Regions from separate parts of the Homo sapiens genome. Here region 1 is linked to region 2. Evidence: promoter capture Hi-C in 16 types of primary human blood cells and fetal thymus (Javierre and others, 2016). All regions are on one chromosome and are shown on one strand. The core of a region is centred on a gene start or on the middle of the fragment in contact, and the rest is flanking DNA. Distances in the headings are between cores, read along the strand shown.

Evidence for each region. Contacts are between HindIII fragments. The CHiCAGO score rates a contact against its expected background, and 5 or more counts as called.
Region 1: a fragment that was not itself captured here is called in contact with the fragment with the promoter of ZNF135 in region 2 in 1 of 17 cell types (non-activated CD4 T cells); the score reaches 5.2 in non-activated CD4 T cells.

The regions. Positions count from the first base shown.
Region 1 is chr19:36,752,464-36,755,163 of GRCh38, forward strand. The region is part of intron 4 of ZNF850 (zinc finger protein 850); the gene reads right to left. Among named protein-coding and RNA genes, the nearest start is that of ZNF850, 19 kb to the right of the region's middle. The HindIII fragment of the contact is 2,842 bases long and covers 1-2,700 here.
Region 2 is chr19:58,057,922-58,060,621 of GRCh38, forward strand. It overlaps ZNF135 (zinc finger protein 135), which reads left to right and starts at 1,361. Exons shown (of 5, transcript NM_001289401.2): 1 at 1,361-1,389; 2 at 2,048-2,114. The coding sequence starts at 2,082. The HindIII fragment of the contact is 3,956 bases long and covers 359-2,700 here.

The sequences.
Region 1 (2,700 bases), core at 55-2,554, about 21 Mb before region 2:
ATTGTAATGTAATTACAATAAATCACATCAAATTTTTTTAAATCTGTGTGTTCATAAGGACAATTTTAAAATTACCTAGTAATTTTTAGGGGATGAGATGAGGAATGGCTGCTAACTTCACAAAAACAGAAACAACCAGATATGTGCTTCTTGATGAAATACACAATACTAATATCACATAGTCTGTTTATAGGAAAGAAAGGAGTAAAGGGAGGAGAGCTAAATGTTAAATGACAGATGATCCAGTTTCTTCAACATATAAATTTCAAGGAGAAAAAGAGAAAGAAATCAACAACAAAACCTCACTGGAATGGTTAAATAACTGGAAATGCAAAAGCAAGGTTAAAAGTCATAAAGAAAAGTCAAAGAATTCATTTGTCTTCCTGAAAGTAATACTGAAAGAACAGGGAGCAAACTATATTCAAGATGGAACAGCTAAAATTTATTCAGAAGTGATGAGGTTTTCTAAAAAAAATCTGAGGTGCCATGAGTGCCATGGATGGTAAATTTTAAAAGTTCTACGGGGCCAGGTGCGGTGGCACACGCCTGTAATCTCAGCACTTTGGGAGTCTGAGGCAGGTGGATCACCTGAGGTCAGGAATTCAAGACCAGCCTGGTCAACATGACAAAACCCCGACTTTACTAAAAATACAAAATAAGCCAGGCATGGTGGTGCACGCCTGAATTCTCAGCTACTCAGGGGGCTGAGGCAGAAGAATTGCTTAAATCCAGGAGACAGAGTTTGCAGTGAGCCGAAATTGTGCCACTGCATTCCAGCCTGGGCGACAGAGCGAGACTTCATCTCAGGAAAAAAAAAAAAAAAAAAAAAGTAAAAGTTCTATAAGCCAGGCATGGTGGTTCATGGCTCTAATCCCAACACTTTGGGATGCCAAGACTGCAAGATTACCAGAGCCCAGGAGTTCAAGACCAGCCTGGGCAACAGCCTGGGACACTGTCTCAAAAAAAAAAAAAAAAAAAAAAAAGCCGGGTGTGGTGGCACATGCCTGTAGCCTCAGGTACTCGGGAGGCTAAGGCGGGAGGATCACCTGAGCCCGGAAAGTCAATGCTGCAATGAGCTGTGGTCAAGCCACTGCACTCCAGCCTGGGTGACCACGGGAGAACCTGTCTCTTAAAAAAAAATTATGCATGATGAAATCCCAATAATAAGAACAAAATGGACAGGAAAAAAAAAAATAGCTTACACACCATGCTTGCTATATGCCAGGCACTATTTTCACTGCTTTACACATTTACTATATAAGCTCATTTAATCTTCAGAAGAATCCTGTGAATAGCATATATATTTGCAAATGAGGACCAGAGAGGTTAAGTAAATTGCCAAAAGTCATAGAGGTATTAAATAGCAGAGCTAGGATTTGAATGGAGGCAATCTGGCTCAAGAGTCCATGCTTTCAACTTCCAAATCAGTGGAATCGAACTAAGTATGGGCATCAGATTTTTTTAAAACCTCAAATCTAAAACAGTGTAAAATAAAACAGGCAACAGAAGACAGGAAAAGTGAGACAAATAGAATAAGCTGGTTAAAAAAATTCAAACAGGCCAAGAGAGGTGGATTGTGCCTGTATTTTCAGCTACTCGGGAGGCTGAGGTATGCAGATTGCTTGAGCCTAGGGGGTTGAGGCTGTGGTGAGCTGTGATTGCTCCACTGCACTCAGCCCGGGCAACAGAGAGAGAGAGACCCTGTCTCAAAAAAAAAAAAAAAAAAATCCAAATACATCACTAATTATAAGGAATGTAAACAAAGAAAAAGTAAATTTCAACCCTTTTAAAATAAAAAGTGACTAAAAACATGAGGACACAAAAAAGTTGAAGTAAAAACTAAGAAAATGAAAATCAGGCAAGTATTCATGAATAGAAAGCTAGGGTCTTAGCACTGGAAAAAAATAGACTTTAAGGTGAAAACATTCTTGGGAATAAAGAGGATTACTACATAATAAAACGTTCATTCACCAAAAAGATATAACAATTCTAAATTTGTAAGCATCCAGTAAAATAAACTCTAAATATGCAAAGTAAAAATTGAGAAAATACAAAAAGTTTAGGCTTCATCTTGATTGTGGGAGATTTCTTTTTTTTAGTTATTTTTTTTGAGATGGAGTCTCACTCTGTCACCCAGGCTGGAGTACAGTGGCACGATCTCAGCTCACTGCAACCTCTGCCCTCCGAGTTCAAGCGATTCTCCTGCCTCAGCCTCCCAAGTAGCTGGGATTACAGGCGCCTGCCACCACGCCCGGCTAATTTTTTGTATTTTTAGTAGAGATGGGGTTTCACCATCTTGACCAGCCTGGTCTTGAGCTACTGACCTTGTGTTTCACCCACCTCGGCCTCCCAAAGTGCTGGGATTACAGGCGTGAGCGACCACGCACGGCTGATTGTGGGAGATTTCAATACACCTCTTTTAATAACTGAGAGGTCAAGCACCCAGAAAATATAAAAGGATACAGAGGATCTTTACATCAAATTAACAAGCATGATATGTTGAACATGTGAGAATTCTACACGCAGCAATTAAAAGAAAGCACAGGAACACGTGAATCCCCACCCCCACAAAAACACTGACAATTCAGCAGTGCGTGAAGTAAGTCTGAACACACTTCCAGAAACTGGTCTCATACTGACCATGTAAATATTGACTATAGTGCAATTAAGGTTGAATTCAGGAATAAAAAATGGGAAAAG
Region 2 (2,700 bases), core at 111-2,610:
CAGGGCTGAGCAGGCTCAGTGTGGCACCACTGACAGCTTCTCACCAGGACTATCAGACCGCTTGGGAAAAAGACTTCACCATGAGTTGTGTGTTCATACCTTTTGATCCAGTAAAAGGAAACGGTTGGGGGTGGGGGTGGGGGGCAAGAGTATACATTTTGTGAAAGAAAAAATACACAAAAAGATGTTTTGTGGCATTTGGGTTTGTGAGTTCGAGAACTGAAAAACGGCATTTTATGTATAATGGAAAGCCTCTTTACTGCTGTAGAGTGAAAAGCAGGCTGGCTTTCAGTGCGACGGTCACAAATGTGGGGCTTTACAGTACTTGGAATGTACAGGACGCCCTTAAAAGCCAAGAAGCTTGCCTTTGCTTTGTTTACATCAGTGCATTATGATTTTGAGCCATTATATCTCTTCATAATTGCCACTGTTTTAGGGCTTATGAAATTTAAAGTCTTAACTTGTGTGTTAACCAGCCAAATCTTTGCAAGTGTCTGTGTGTGGTACGAGAATTCGTATTGTGTTCTCTGCTGTTTTCAGAGTTGTTTCAGTCAAAGAAAAAAAAATGCCCGTCTTAAAACTTTTCCTCTGCTTCAAATACAGCTCCCAAGCCCAGGCTGATTGGAATTAATCTGTCCTCCCTTAAAAGGGCAAAAGCACAAGGCTCAGCCCTGGCTTTCCCAGCTCCTCTGGTCTCGCTGCTCCACGGACGTGTGACGTACGCTGGTGAAACGAAGCCCGCTTGAATGGGGGCTTCACTATTGTGTGCTGCTGAACCTAGGCCTAGCGCCTGGCAGGCTTTGGTGAATGTTCAGAAAATGACAATTCATTTCGTGTCAGCGAGGGCACACCAGCTTTGAATATTTTGCTGCTGTTCAAATGCACAATTTTGACAATTACCTAGCAATGTCCAAAGTCGTCATAATTGTTAGTGTCTTGCACGTGATGTTCCTTATAACCATGTAATAAATACAGTGTGAAGTCTCCATGGCTGCCTCAGTGTGGAAAATGCAAAGACTCCCGTGTGTGCGATCTTGGTGAATGTTTTGGTTGAAAGTATGTGTTTTGAAAAAATCATTGCTTTGTTTGCAGCAGTAAAACTGACGGTAGAGTTTCCAACACGAAAGCCCGTGTGGTCGCGCCGGGAGCTCACGGCGTTCCAAGCGGCACTTATCCCGCGTTGATGCCCAGGCACCCCGCGCGCCCTGTTTCACCAGGCCCAGTCACTCCAGCTCCAGCAGCACTGAGAGCTCACGAACGCCAAGGGCGAGAGCGAGGTGGGGGAGGGCGGCCGGAAATGCGCGCGCGGCTCTCTGGGAAATGGAGTTAGGCTCGCGCCGGCGCAGTGTCGGCTGCCGGTGCCGCGGCCTTTGTCTCGCAGTCAGGAGGGTGAGCTAGGCCGGCGAGGAGGGGGAGGGGAGGCCAGGCCGGGCCGGGCCGGGCCGGGTGCGGGGGGTCCGGGGATCTTCCTGAGGCCCTGGCGGGGCGAGTTTCCAGCAGCGCGCGTCTGTGTGGAGTCCGTTTTGCTGCCCGGGGCCTGGGGAAGGCCGTTTCGGGGCTGGCGGGGGCAGGCTTTGCGGGGCATCCCTAGTCTGAGAGGAGGGCGGGGCCCAACGCCCAGCTGGACAGGAGCTGCTCCGACGGCCCCTGAGGGAACGCGCGCCCCGCCCCTGGCCCCACCTCTGCCCCACACCGGGCACTGGGCCGCCACCTTTGTTGATGGAAGAGAGAAACTGAGGCATAGTGCCCAGGGCCAGGGGACCGCAACCACCCGGCCCTTGTCACTGTAGCGTTAAGGCTCAGAGTCTGCGCAGCAGATATGTGTCCGCACCCGCCAGGCCTTCAGCTTCCCTCAGACAGGCGGGAAAACCCTAGGCTGCCCTTCTCCGAGCGGAGGGCCGCCCCACACACAGCAGGCGCTTAAACGGGTACGCGGGGCCCTGGACGGCTCTCCGCGGAGCTCCCCAGGCTCTGGCGCAGTTCCCCGGCTTGGGGACCTGAGCACCGCCTCTGCCTGCCCCAGCTGCTCACCTCCCCTTTCCCACAGAGCAGGGCCAGCCGTTCCTGCCAGAAGCCAGGGCATGACCCCTGGGGTGCGCGTCTCCACAGACCCGGTGAGAATCTCGGCCTCCTTGCGCGTGTCCTCCACCTCGTGCCCGGCCTCCTCGCGCGCGGCCTTCTCACGCCCGGCCTCCTCTTTGCACCCCGTCCCTACTCGCGCTCAGCCTCCTCCTTGTGCCCGGCCCCTACTTGCGTGCCCGGCCCCTACTCGTGCCCGGCCTCTACTCGCACAACTGGCCTCTACTCGCGCACCTGGCCTCTACTGGTGCCCGGCCTCTACTCGTGCCCGGCCTCTATTTGCACATCTAGCCTCTACTCGTGTCCGGCCTCTACCTGCACACCCGGCCTCCTAAAGTCCGCGCCAAGCTCCCCAACCACAGCCTGCCTCTGAAAGGACCGCCCACGCCGCGCTGGAGGTCAGCGGGCACGGGTCCCTGTCTGAGTGGGCTTTATGTTTGTGCGGCCGTCATTGCATACCTGAGGCTGGGTGATGTCAGAAAATTGTAGGTGCCCCGGCTCTGCAGTCTGAAGTTGAAGGCCTTAGCATGCTCTGCGCTCCAAGATGGCGCATCGAGTGCCGCTTCCTCAGACGTCATGGAGGCCAAGGGGGCGGAACTCGCCTTTTTATGATGACATTAA